Linked DNA regions of Homo sapiens: regions 2 and 3 are each linked to region 1. The links are contacts of gene promoters, found by promoter capture Hi-C in blood cells and fetal thymus (Javierre and others, 2016). All regions are on one chromosome and are shown on one strand. Each heading gives the region's core, a stretch centred on a gene start or on the middle of the fragment in contact. The rest is flanking DNA. Distances are from core to core; before and after follow the strand shown. Region 1 holds the start of S100A2 (S100 calcium binding protein A2). Region 2 has its middle 7.0 kb from the start of S100A9. Region 3 has its middle 13 kb from the start of S100A7A.

Region 1 (4,583 bases), core at 683-3,182:
CAGAACAGGTAGACACTGAATCCGGTTGGGCCCTGGGAAGGCTCCCTGCAGTGGCCTTTGAAGGGGGGGTTGGATTTCAGCAGGATAGAGGGCATGGGCATGTGTGGGCACGTTCTGAACAGAGGGGTCAGCGCAAGCCGAGGGTCTTGGCCACACTAGTTGCATGTGCCGGTGTGTTTAAGGGACACGCAGCAGCAGGCCGAGTCTGGAGCGCCTCACTGCCAGGCTTTTTAAAAATTTTTAATTTTAATTTAATTTTATTTTATTTTTACTTTAAGTTCTGGCATACATGTGCAGAATGTGGTTTGTTACATAGGTATACATGTGCCATGGTGGTTTGCTGCACCTATCAACCCATCATCTAGGTTTTAAGCCCCGCATGCATCAGGTATTAGTCCTAATGCTCTCCCTCCCCTTGCCCCCATCCTTCTCCCCGCAACTGCCCACAGGCCCTGGTATGTGGTGTTCCCTTCCCTGTGTCCATATGTTCTCATTGTTCAACTCCCACTTATGAGTGAGAACATACCGCCTGGCTTTAAGGGACAGCCATGGGGATGCACTGCAGTTTCTGAGCAGGGAAGGCCCTGTGGAGGCCCTTAGTTAAAAGGAAAGAATGGCTGTGAAAATCGATGCATTGCGCTCCCTTGTCCCTCACCCTCAGTGTGAAGGGTTTTTATTCCGAGTTCTACTTGAAGTAGGCCTCGATGGGAAGACAAGTAGCATGAGGGGTTCAAGTACTGAGGGGAGCAAGGGACACTCGGTGGCTGTGCCAAGGTGTAGAAGAGGACACTGGGGGCCCCAAGGCCTGACTTCATGTACACTGCTCAGGCTGGCCCCCAAGTCACACGGTGACCGCTAGGAAGGGACCAGCCTGTTCTCAGTCTGATCCTCCTGCCATGTCATTATCCAAAGCTCCTCCTGGCAGGGCCTGTTTGGGGTCTCTGTGCCAGTGCTTTCCCTGCCAGGCTGGGCTGGGGCTTCCACCTACTGCTCTGGGACTGCTGCTGCCCTGGCCCTGGGGGAGGAGGGTGTGCCGCTGAGTCACTGCCTGGGCATCTGGGCCTGGAACCTCGGGTGAGTCACTTAGGGCTGAGGTAGAGGGGCTGGGGGAGGGGAAGAAGCTACTCGACAGCTGGAGCAGGGAGGGGAGCTGGGGCCACAGGAAGGGCGGTGCCCTGATGCCCAGACGGGCCGGGATAGACAAAGGGCCAAGGAGGAAGGGGCCCTGGGAGGGGGCAGCCCTCCCTTGGGCTGGGCTCTGAATGGCCACAGTGTTTGCCTTTCTCCGGGTCTGGGGAGGACATGTGTGTGGGGGGCAGTGAGAGAGGGCTGTGGCTGAGGGCTGTGCTTCAGGCCTGGATTCTGGCTTGGGAAGCTGTCCAGCTGGTGTTTTCAGCCTTGGGTAGGGATGTACCCCTACCCACCCACCCAGCCCTCAAGCTGGAGAAGAGGAGGCCAAAGTTTTCCTGTTCAGCCTTTAACTACTCGGGACTTCCTTATGCTCCCCACAGACTGTGGCCCAGCCCAACTGCGGCTGTGTGTAGAGCAACCCCATTTCTCACTGCTTCCCCATCCTTCCAGACACCTTCCTACACAGAGGGACCTTCCCAGGTATTTCTAAGCACACTTAGTTACCTCATTACCTCATTAAGAGGTATTCTGGTGCTGGCCATTAAAAGTCACTCCACTTCATCCATGCCCTGAAGTCAGTCCTGTCCTTCTCCTCCTGATGTCCCCCAGCTGCCTCCTCTGGCCCCCAGCTTCCTAAGGGTGGCCCCAGGTTGCTTCTCTCTCACACACACGGGCGCATGTATGTACACGAGCACTGGACCATGAAGTCTCAGCGTGTGCTCACAGCCTCTCACACAGGAGTGGGCTGTGACTCACAGGCATGTCATGAGAATGAGGCCTGGCACCAGTCTCCAGGCCCCAGAGCAGGGGTTGCCTCCCCTCACCCCGGTCCAGGATGCCCAGTCCCCACGACACCTCCCACTTCCCACTGTGGCCTGGGTGGGCTCAGGGGCTGCCCTTGACCTGGCCTAGAGCCCTCCCCCAGCTGGTGGTGGAGCTGGCACTCTCTGGGAGGGAGGGGGCTGGGAGGGAATGAGTGGGAATGGCAAGAGGCCAGGGTTTGGTGGGATCAGGTTGAGGCAGGTTTGGTTTCCTTAAAATGCCAAGTTGGGGGCCAGTGGGGCCCACATATAAATCCTCACCCTGGGAGCCTGGCTGCCTTGCTCTCCTTCCTGGGTCTGTCTCTGCCACCTGGTCTGGTGAGTACCTCTGTCCTGCTGAGGGCAGGGTGGGGAGGATCCCCGTGGGTCTCTGTCTTTGTCTCCACAGTTCTCTCATTCCAGCTTCCCTGGTGGGATCAACCTGGGCCTCTCTGGGCCTTCCCCCTTGGAAGAACTCTCTGTGAAGTGCTGAAGTGTTGACTGAAGGGTTTTTTTTTTTTTTTTTTTTTTTTGAGATGGAGTCTCGCTCTGTCGCCCAGGCTGGAGTACAGTGGTGTGATCTCAGCTCACTGCAAACTCCCCCTCCCAGGTTCACGCCATTCTCCTGCCTCAGCCTCCCGAGTAGCTGGGACTGCAGGCGCCCACCACCATGCCCGGCTAATTTTTTTGTATTTTTAGTAGAGATGGGGTTTCACCATGTTAGCCAGGATGGTCTCGATCTCCTGATCTCGTGATCCACCCATCTCGGCCTCCCAAAGTGCTGGGATTACAGGAGTAAGCCACCGCGCCCGGCCGACTGAAGGGTTTTTCTCCAGGTTCCTCTGTGAGGTCTCAGTGCAGGGGTTGCTCTGAGGCCCTCCCCTGGATATCTCAGTCTAGGGGCCCTTCTTTGGGGGTCTAGGCCTAGGAGCAGGAGGTGTGCATGTGGGCGTTGCTGCAAAAAGAATCCTGAGATTTTTTTTTTTTTTTGCAAAGTCCTGGATTCTAGCAGGACTAAGGTGCAAGAGGCAGGGGTCTCAAGACTCTGCCTGGGTCATGGCCCCAAGCAGCAAAGCTCTGCCCCCTGCCTCGGTGAAGGCAGGGCTGGCATGATGGGCCCAGGGCATGCCCTGCCTCTGGCATAGCTCCTCTGGCCTCACCCTGAAACCTGCCTAACCTTTCCAGGCTGGTCTGAGTATTCTCAGAGGCCTTGCCGCTGAGGTCTGTCCCATCCTGATCCCAAGGCAATGAACATTTCATATCTTTAATTCTAATTCCAACAGGATCCTTCCTGGTGGAGAGAATGTTAAGTTGCCCCCACCCTATCCATGCCCCTGTCTGCCTAGAGGCTCAGGGGCCTTCAGGGTGAGGGGAGACACATTCCCCACCCTCTGGGAGCTCCTAGTCTGAGAGAGGAAACACTCCTGCCCAAGGGAGCTTCCAGTTAGATGGCAGAGAGAGATGCCTCTGGCTTCAGGAGTCCCGAGTCTAAGGAGGGAAACGACTCCTTCAGGGAGCTTCCTGCTCCTAGGCTGTAGCCATGGCTCCTGCCAGACTGCACAGGAGCCCCCATCTGCCAGCCGGTGCATGTGGCCCTGCTCCCCAGAGCCTGCGCAGATGCCATCAAAATGGGACTCTGGTCACCCTGTCATTTCCCTTCTGGCAGACACTAAAATGGGGAGCCCTGCCCTCAGGGGGGTGTCCCAAGTGCCATCAGAGGAGGCTTGGTGACTCCCAGACACAAGGGAAGCTTTAGCGTCTGCCCTCAGGGTGAGATGGAGGTATCGCCTCCGGCCTCAGGGAACCACAGTCTGAGGGGGAGATGCAGCCCCTGCCTTCCCATTCAGAGAGGGGTTTTGTGAGGTGGCTTGGGGGCATAGGGCAGAAGTGGATCCTACAGGCTGAGCTAAGGCCCCAAGAGCCTCAGCAGTGTACCCATCACCTGGCACCTCTGCAGCCACAGATCCATGATGTGCAGTTCTCTGGAGCAGGCGCTGGCTGTGCTGGTCACTACCTTCCACAAGTACTCCTGCCAAGAGGGCGACAAGTTCAAGCTGAGTAAGGGGGAAATGAAGGAACTTCTGCACAAGGAGCTGCCCAGCTTTGTGGGGGTGAGTGGCACAGGCCTGTGGGGGAGGTCCTGGTGTGAGTGTGGGGGTGCAGGTTAAATCTCTCCCCCAGTTCCGGGTGCCTGTCGATGCAGGTGCCAGGGTGGGGCCCAGCCCCCTCCCCACTTTAGCTTCATGGCTCCACTGGAGTGGAAATGAGGCCCGAGTGGGAGTGCTTAATTAATGGCTGTTTCCTGCAGCATTCCAGAGAACCATGTGCTGTGAGGGCCTTCCGAGTCCATCTGTTTAATCCTGTCATTGGAGACTTGAGAAACCAGAGCCCAGAAGGGAAAAGTGATTGTCCCAAGATCACACAGCACTGGCACGTTCTCTCTCTCTCTTTTCTTTTCTTTTTTTTTTTTTTGAGATGGAGTTTCCCTCTTGTTGCCCAGGCTGGAGTGCAATGGCACGATCTCGGCTCACTGCAACCTCTGCCTCCAGGGGTCAAGCAATTCTCCTGTCTCAGCCTCCTGAGTAGCTGGGACTACAGGCGCATCCCACTACGCCCAGCTAATTTTTGTATTTTTAGTAGAGACAGGGTTTC
Region 2 (4,583 bases), core at 918-3,417, 200 kb after region 1:
ATCATCTGCCTTTGCTTGTCTTTTGCCCACAACATTGTATTATAGAGAAAATATCTGGTAATTGTGCCCCCACTGGACTGAGGGCTCTGTGAAGGCAGGGAATCTAGCACACTATTTGACATAAGACCAGGCTCATCAGCCTCCTAACTGGTCCTCATGCTTCTACTCTGGGGTTCTCCAGGCTACCCTCCACACAGCTGCCGAATATTCTCCTCCAGATACATCATATCACATCACCTGCCTGATTAAAACCCTCCAAAGGCTCTCCAATGTGTTTGGGGTGAAATCTTCGTTGAGATGGCTTCTTGTCATCCAGGCCTCATTTCCAGTGTTGCTTCCTTGCCTGGCTGCCGGCCCACAAAGCAGTCCTGTTAGCATGTCCCCTTTATTTTCTTTGTGCAACTCATCACCATCTAAAATGATCTGGGCTATCTATTTCTTGACTTGCCTCTTGTCTGACTCTCCCCTAGACGCAGTTTTGTTGACCCAGCACCTATAACAGTGCTCTGCATTTAGTTCTCACTCAATGAGTATTTGCAGACTGAATAGCTGATGAATGTTGGCTTCTTTGCATGGAGCTGTTTCCTACCAGAGGGAATGAACACCTGGAGTAGAATGCGAGGGCGATGCTTGAGGCAGTGCTGGGAGAGTGGGAGGGCCTGGCAGCAAATGAGCCACACCACAGCGGGTTTGGAGGCCTTGCCCCCGGGGGTGGGCTCCTCTCCCTGGACCCTGGTGATATTTGAAGGCAGCTGTCATGGCTCCCTTGCTTACCTTTTCCAGACTTGATTCCCCAAGACCTTCAACAATTTTCCCTTGTGATTGTCTCCTTTCATTATGAGGAGTAGACTCGAAACTGGGACATCTTGTGTTTTGAGGGAGCCATTTCTGGTTAGATATGACCCGTAGTTACTTCACAAAGGTTAGATATGACCCCTAGTTGCTTCCCTGAAAGCACTCAGCCACATAGAACTGCATTTTACCACAGAGGACAGGAGGGCAGAAGGCAGTAAGTGAGAAAAAGCTCAGGGAGAGGATGTAGAAAAGGTAAAGAGAGAAAGAGAGGGGGCAAATCAAGAGGGAAAAGGTTGGGGGAGAGGCAGGGGAGAGGAGGGAGGATCAGACTCCAAGTCAAGGCGGGGGATGCTGAAGGTGCGGGCTGCATGCTGGAATCCTGCTGCCCCTGCCGCCCCTGCTGGTGGCCACCCTCCTCTTCCTCTTCACCTCGGGTCTTGGCAACAAACCCCTTCCTCACTGTACAGTCTGCATGCAGCAATTTTGGGTACGTGGGCAAGAGTGGGAGAACTCATGCAGAAAAGGAAAGCCTAGATGTAGTTGTTTTGAGCCAGCACCAATAGCGGTGCTCTGTGTTTAGTTGGGACTCTGCATTCCGTGGGACACTCAGGATGGAGGCCAGCTGGCTGTCGCTCAGGGGCTCCCTTTCCCTGTCTCCTGTGTCTGGGAGTGGATCTCTGAAGACAGGGGTGATCTAATCATCCAGGGACTGATTGTCGTCTTAGGATAGAGAAACTGTTTCAGGTCAGAGCCCCAAGGGGCAATAGGACTTGAGAAACCAGTTGTTTCAGTCCTGCTGTCACTTTGGTAATTGGAGTGTCAAAATCCATGACACGGGGCTTTCTAAAATATATGTTTTAAGCAACTGCCGGAAGAGGGGGCAGTGCATTGGGGTTGGATTATGGAGCTTACTTCAGGGCAGGGCTGCATCAGGGTTGTGTAAGGTTGGCTCACCGGGCTGGTGAAAGCTGAGATCTTCCTTCCTGGAAAGGTCTTGGCAAACAGCATGAAATGATCTTATTTATCATGTTGCAGTCACACCTCTCCTAATTGAGGTGAAGCTTGGGGTAGTTTGAGGCTCTAGCTTTACTTTTTCTGAGAAGCACCGCTTGGACTCTTAAGTGCTCACCTGGGCTCTTGCAACAGACTCCCCACAGGCCATGTGCCTGGGGTCTCATTCCCACCCCAAACCCATCCCATAAAACACAGATAGAGAAACTTCTATGAAATGCAAATGTGATTATATCATTGCCCTCCCTGAAGCCTTCGGGGCTCTGCCCCTGTTCTGCTGAATGGAGTGTGAGTTCCTTGGCCTGGTACCTATCCTGTTCTCATCTGTCTCTCTTACCTCTCCCTGCCACGCCCCCAGTGCTCCTCATTCGCCCTCAAACCCCACGCCTGCCCATTTCCAGGCCTTTGCATACATGGTCTCCTGAAGCACCTTCATGTTTATCCCGGGATGTCTCCAGGTACCAGCCTTGATGTCACACTGATACTTACCCCTCCATGGAGATGGCCCCAGTGAAGGGCATCATTCCCACCTCAAAGTCCCACCGAGCTACATCCCACCGAAATCTTTTAGCTGGACCTCCCTGGCCTCTCATTTTCCACATCAGATTAATTTGAGGAGCTGTCTTGTCTCCCTGCAGGCCCGAGAACTCTTTGACAACATGGACAAGCTTTATTTATCATGAAGGCCCCTCAGCATTATACTGTGCCTGACACATAGTAAGTCTGCAGTTAATGTCTGTTGAGTGAATGAAGGGACATACAAGTGAGTGGACAAGTGAATTCATTTCTCCCCCAAGTTCTGGAGCCATCCCACCACCACCCAGGCCCCAGACCACATTCAGAGCACTGTGAAGTGTCTGGGAAGAGTTTAGCAGCTTAGACTACTTCTGATCCTTCCTCATTCCTCCCAGGAAGGCATCTAGCAGTTCAGGTTCCACTGCTAACACCAGCCTGGAGGGCAACTCATTGTTGCAGGAATTGTTGGATAGTCATCTGAAGACAGGTTGTCTCTGATTCTTTAGTCACCATGGTGCTGGGAAAGTCCCCAAAGGTCATGTTTCCCCAAAGGACTCATTAATCACAGAGATAGCTACTGATTTCCACTTGGAGTGGGAATCTTAACCTTGACATGGACATGGACATGCTTGCTCTCTCTATCTGAGAAAAGAAGCCCACTCTGCTCTACTCAGCAGAATGAGGTTTTTTTTTTTTTTTTTTTTTTTGAAATGAAAGAGGCTAATGGGAATGAAGAGGTTAAGTCACCTTGATGAGTTCTGTTCAACTACGTTTAAAGAAAATTCCGCAGGGTGCAAGTGGCTTGTTGTCAGACCTTCCCCCAGGGTCTGAAACAATTGCCTACATGCAGACTGAGTTACTAGAGACAAGGTAAATGGAAGAATCCTTGTTACCTGAGGAGGTCTCTGGGTCATCCTGCCACTCAGCTGCTCTGCTCTCTGCCAGCCCCAGGTCTCCAGACAGCTGGCACCCCCAACCCCAGTTCCTGAGAGCCACTCCTACCTCACACCCACATTCGAGCAAAGCACCCATTTCTGCTCTAGAACCATCCTATCTTCACTTTGTGGATGAACAAGTGGATGGTCCATGCTGGGATCTTGAATGTGGGGGAAAATCAGCTATAGTCCCTGCTTTCAGGGGTTCATAGTCTTGGCAAATGAGTATTTGCCATTCAGTATTTGAAGTGCAATGGTGGAATTGTCAGAGTTCTGTGGGCCTGGAGGAGGAAGTCCCTATCTTCTTGAGAAGGGTGGATGGTGAGGAAGCAGTAACACTTGTTCCAAGGCTTGATGGATCCTAAGGGACTTACAAGAGACACCAGGATGGAGCACAGCATTTTTGGTGCAAAGGTGAAGAGGCTGGAGAAAGCCTGGATGTAATTTAGGGAAGGCGTTTTGAAGAAGTGGAGGAATAAACATGTGGATGGGAGGATGGATGATAAGGGGTTAGATTTGTTCTGTGTCCTCAAAGGGGAGGAAAAGTAGGACTAATGCTGGGTGGGCATGAGGAGATGGATTTCAGCTCAGTATAATGAGGGACATTCCAAGTGTCACTCCCAAAGGGGGAAACTCTCCTTTCCTGGAGGAATTCAGGCAGGGTTGGTTCAGTCACTTGGCAGGGATGTTGGCAAGAATCACTCTAGAGTGTGGGTGGGGCAGATTGGATTAAGTCCATAGTTTTCACACTTTTTTCAAGACAAATCTCTTCCTTCAAATCAAATTGGTCTGATTGAACAGGGGGTGGAGGGGCCCTCCGATTCCATCAACTTGCTGCTCCTTACCTTCAGGTTTGAGATTCTGTAATGCTAATGCAGAAGCCTTCCATTTGCAGGTTTTGATCTCCTCTTGCTTTTTTTTCTCCACATCATCCCTTGAGAAGAGAGCATAGAACACGTGAGAAACCTAGGCCATTATACAGGCAATATTTGCTGAGAACCTTCTATGTAGCAGCCACTACTCTAGGTGCTGAGAATAAATCAGAAAAAAAAAACAGATGGACTTTGCTCTCTTGGAGTTATCAGTCTGGAGGGGTAGGCAGAGTCATAAACATATTTAGGCACATTGTGATAAGTAGTGGTGGGCAGAGGGCCTAGGGGGAGCACTTACCACCCTACTGGAAGCATCTGGTCTAAGGCCCTCCAATCCCCAGGATGCTTCTCTCTCCTCATTACCAAGCTGTGTTCAGAAGGGAGTGAAGACAGTGACTCCTCCCTGGATGTGAGCATGGGAGCAGAAGGGCTGTCAGAAAATGAGTGTCCCCAG
Region 3 (4,583 bases), core at 704-3,203, 160 kb after region 1:
GGCCATAGAGCACTTCCAGGAGCCACGGTGAGAGGGACAGGGCAGAGGGAGCCACGGGAATGTTCCAAGACAGCCAGCTGTTCTGTTTGGGGTCCTTCTGGGTGGTGCTGGCCAGCTGCATCTCTGGACTCGTGCAGCAGTTGGGGGAGCGGGACAGAGAGACAGAGAGAGAGTTCTGCAGCATTCACAAGAGGTTATTAGGACTCAGTTCTGCTGTGAGCCATCCACACTGGAGGATGAGAACACCCAGCTGCAGCCCAGAGCCTGTGGTCCCACTGTTAGGTTTTGAAGGGAAGGCAAGGGTTAAAAAAAGACACAGAGAGAGTTGGTGGCTCTATGGAAATGCAGGTTTTATGTCCAGCACAAGACCTGAGGAGGTGGGGGACAAGCTTAATGCCAGAGCCCCCTGCCGCTTACAGGCTGGGGTAATTTATAGGTCTAGGTGGGGGTCTGGGCAGTATGGCTAGCTCGCCGGGAGGATATTGATAAGATGTTCCTGTGATCAGGCGGTTTGGACCTTTTTCCAGCGGGATGTGATAGGCTGTTTCTTGGACCTTTGCCCCGCAGGATATGATGGGGATGTTCCTTCAGTTGCGCCTTTGCCCAGCAGGGTATGATAAGGATGCTCTTGTGCCTTGCGGTCAGGTGGTTAGGCAGGATGTTTCTCACGGCCTGAATCCACATGGAATGTTTCACTCTGACCAGGGTCCGCAAAATGGCAGGGGGCTTACAAAATGGTGCAGTTTGGACTAACACCCACCATCCTGTCGAATGGGTTTGCTGGGAGGATTTACTGTCAATTCTGTTAGCCTGATAAGGGAGGTTGCTTTCTCGGAGGCCGCATACACAGACAGTGCTAGGAAGTGACCCAAGCGTACCCTGAGAAATGTATCTGTTCAACCAAATTTCAAGTTGGCAATGATCATTCCTCATCTCGCCCAATTTTAAGACGAGGCTGGGCCGTGTAGGTAAAACTGGCAAGCTGGAGAAAGCAGTGCGGGGTGGGGGGGACTCCAGGAAGGCTCCTTGGCCAAGGAGGACTGTAGGATTCTGACTTACACTGTAAGGGCTGTTCCTGTTACAGTTGGCCCCAGTCAGAGGCCCAGGACAAAACTCTGGCCCTGAGTGCAGAGAATTGGTTTTCTGTTTCCCAAGCTTCCACACGGTGGCGCCACCGAGCACCCACCTCGCCCTGGTTGTCGCCGGAGGCAGTACCACGTGGCTGGGTCCTTCGTGGTTCCCGCCCTTCTGTAGGTTGTGAGTCCCACGTCGGGCACCAATCTTGCACCTGTTAAAAAAAGAGATCTTCACCAAAAGCTTCTGAAAGGCAGAGGGCTTTTCTTACTTAATTTGTATTCTTTTCTCTCTCCAATGCTTACCAGAGGACACTGCATAAAATAGTATATTGGGGACACAATTGTTAATCAAGTGGTAGAAACAGGAAGAGATAAAAATAATTAAATTTTTAGTAATGGTGGGTTAAGTAAATCTTGATGCCTATACACATGGAATCCCTGTGATGATACGAAATGGACATTTGGTCTTTGTCCCTGTTCCTGACACCGAGCGTCTGAAATCCTTGGAATCTCCTGAATGACAGGGGAGAGGGAGCATCTTTTGTTATTCATAACAATCCCCTTCCAGTCATGCTGAGTGTGTGCTAATGAGGTGACTCTTGGTGGACCCCTAGATAGCTTCAGGATGGGGCTGGTTGCCAGAGGAAGCAACCATGTGATTAGAGGGCTGGAGCTTTCAGCCCCACACTGGGCCTCCACAGAGCGGCTGGGGAAGGACTTCAATCACCAGTGGCCAATTATTTAATCAACTATGCCTAAATGAAGTGACTGCCATAGAAACCCCAAACGATGGGGTTCAGAGAACTGTAGGGCTGCTGAGCAGGTGGGGTGCCGGAAGGGTGGGCTCCTGGAGTGGGCCTGGGAGCTCCATGCTGCCCCTCATACATGGCCCTGTGTGTCTCTTCCACGTGGCTTTTCCTGAGTTGTACTCTTTGTAATAAACCAGTAATCATGAGTAAAGTGCCTCCCTGAGTCCTGTGAACTCTTGTAGCAGATTATCTAACCTGAGGAGGGGGTTTGTAGGAACCTCCAATTTTAGCCAGTCAGTCAGAAGTATGGGCGGTCAGGTGCTGCGATTGGCATCTGCAGTGGGGGCAGTGTTGTGGGGCTGAGCCTTCACCTTGTGGGGTCTGTGCTAACTCTTGGTAGTTAGGATCAGAACGGAATTGCACGATACCCCGATGGTGTTCAGAGTGTTGGAGAATTGGTTGGTGTGGGGATTTTAAAAAAAGGAAATATAACCCCCACACATTTGGCGTCAAAAGTGTTGTTAGTCAGAATGGTTCTGGAATTCCATATAATGTAGCTATTTGGAATCAATCACTCAAAAATATTTAAGAACTGGGGAGATGTTTTAAACATAGTCCTAATTGAAAAAGCAGATCATAAAACAGCTGGGAAAGGGCAGGGCCGTGGCCCACAGGGTGGACGTGGAGTGGGGGTGGGGAGGGGGTTAATGTGACATGATTGCTCCACATGAGACAAGGCCACGGAACTCAGGAAACAAAGCTTGTTTTGAGCAAGAGTCGTGTCAGATTTCGACAGGAGGTAGAGCAGAGAGAAGATATCTTTACATAGGTGAAGCTAACAGTTCATGATAAAGTGTTCTCAGCCTTCACATTCACAGTCAATTGATTTTCAACAAGCCCGCCAAGCCAATTCAATGGAGAAAGAATAGTCTTTCCAACACATGATGCTGGGACAAGTGGACAGCCACATGCAAAATAATGAAGCTGGACCCCTTCCTTCCTTCATACACACAAATTAACTCAGAATAGGTCACAGCCCTACACATAAGAGCTAAAACTAAAACTCTTAGAAGAAAATATAGAAGTAAATCTTCAAGACTGAGGTCTTGAATATCTTTGCATATGCTACTGAGGCTTTATGACTTTACTTTCCACAGTTAGACCTACAATCCACTTGGAATTGTCATTTTGTCTGCTTGTGTGGTCTAGTTTCATGAGCATGAGCATCCAGTTGATCCAGTAAAATGTATTGAAAAGCTTGTGCTCAGCAGTGCCACTTTTGTCACAGAATAAATATACCATACGTGTGTGTCTTTTTCTCAGACCTCTATTTAGTTCTGTTGATCTATGTGACTGTCCTTGAACCAGCCAGGCAGTATCTTAGTTACCGGAGCTGTTATGATAAATCTTAACATCTAGTACTGTAGATCCTCCCATGTCTTTTCTTTTTCATGATTCCCTTGGCTATTCTTGGCCTGTCTATATACTTTTTACAGTTAACTTGTCAATTTCTACAAAAATTCCAGCAAGGACTTTGGGACTGGGATTGCACTGAATCTATAGGTTACGTTTGGGAGAACTATCAGCTTTACAATAGCATGTAAAGCTGCTATGAACATGGCATATCCCTTACTAAAAACTTTTAGTGGCTTCCCATCCTGCTTAAAGTCCAAATTTTGCAAAGTCCTCGTTGGCTTGTCCTCTGCCTGCCCCTCAGACCTCATCTCCTGTCTTTCTGGGCTCCATTTACACCACTCCAGCCCTTCTTTCTGCCCCTCTGTCAGCCCAGGCTGGCTCCTACCTGAGCACCTCTGTTCCAGCTCTTTCCTCTAACCATGGGGCCCTTCTCCTGCTCTCCCTAAGGTTGGATTTCCTGTTATTCGGGGACAAGGTAATGTAGTGGTTGAGAACAGGTATGTGGGGCCCATGGGCCTGGGTTAGAAATGTGCCTCTGCATTACTAGCTGTGTCCCCAGCATGCTCCTGTAATTGTCATTCCTTGGGCTTTTTCAGCAATTGTTAAGAAGATGAGATGAATGGGTGGATGTAAAGCCCATGGAGCAGTGCTCAGCAAAGAGGAAGAACTTAATACTGTTAATCATCTTCTCACTCTCCAGCAGCCTCCTGGTCCTACAGAAGCAGCCTAGGGACTCCCTATGCTCAAATCCTATTCTTTTTCTCTACACGGCAATAATGTACCCTTTCTTTCTCTTTATCACATTTTCTGTGAGGATTCTAATGCATCTAGCAGCTCCCCCTTCAAGCACAGCCCATCTAACACACATTTCAGATACTCTTGAGGCTGTTGACTGGGATATCAGGTTGCTCTAATCCTAAAGATAAAAAAGGTCTGGAAAAAAGAAAATAGATATACACTGGTAAGAACTGGCAAAAATCCCTAAATATTCCATCAGTATAACCCGATTCATCGTCTCAAGTACCATATGAGATTTCTTTAATTTTTAAGGTAATTACTTGATCCTCTTCACCACCACCTCACCGCCCTCTTAGTCAGAAATTGAATATTATCCTGCTTGAAGTATTTCCAATTCTTGAGGTGTCTAAAACCCTGGGTGCGGCCGAAGCGGGGATGGGGGTGCTTCAGGGCCAGTTTCGGGTAACCTCCTTTCTCAATTTCACCAGAAAGCGCTACTCCTTTGCTGTACTGGCTTCTGGATGTCACGGGACATTGTTTTCAGTGTCTGGTCTGCACACTGGAAAGACATGAAGACTGTGTTTGTCAAGATCACAATCTTAGT

Evidence for each region. Contacts are between HindIII fragments. The CHiCAGO score rates a contact against its expected background, and 5 or more counts as called.
Region 2: a contact is called between a fragment that was not itself captured here and the fragment with the promoter of S100A2 in region 1, in 1 of 17 cell types (M1 macrophages). The highest score is 5.2, in M1 macrophages.
Region 3: a contact is called between a fragment that was not itself captured here and the fragment with the promoter of S100A2 in region 1, in 1 of 17 cell types (neutrophils). The highest score is 5.5, in neutrophils.

The regions. Positions count from the first base shown.
Region 1 is chr1:153,563,193-153,567,775 of GRCh38, reverse strand. It overlaps S100A2 (S100 calcium binding protein A2), which reads left to right and starts at 1,932. Exons shown (of 3, transcript NM_005978.4): 1 at 1,932-2,270; 2 at 3,889-4,042. The coding sequence starts at 3,899. RefSeq lists enhancers at 771-1,010, 708-1,907, 1,881-1,940, 2,060-2,817, 2,818-3,575 and 1 more. The HindIII fragment of the contact is 6,475 bases long and covers 1-3,683 here.
Region 2 is chr1:153,362,549-153,367,131 of GRCh38, reverse strand. No RefSeq gene overlaps it. Among named protein-coding and RNA genes, the nearest start is that of S100A9, 7.0 kb to the right of the region's middle. The HindIII fragment of the contact is 618 bases long and covers 1,859-2,476 here.
Region 3 is chr1:153,401,511-153,406,093 of GRCh38, reverse strand. It overlaps a transcript of S100A8 not described here. Among named protein-coding and RNA genes, the nearest start is that of S100A7A, 13 kb to the left of the region's middle. The HindIII fragment of the contact is 1,268 bases long and covers 1,320-2,587 here.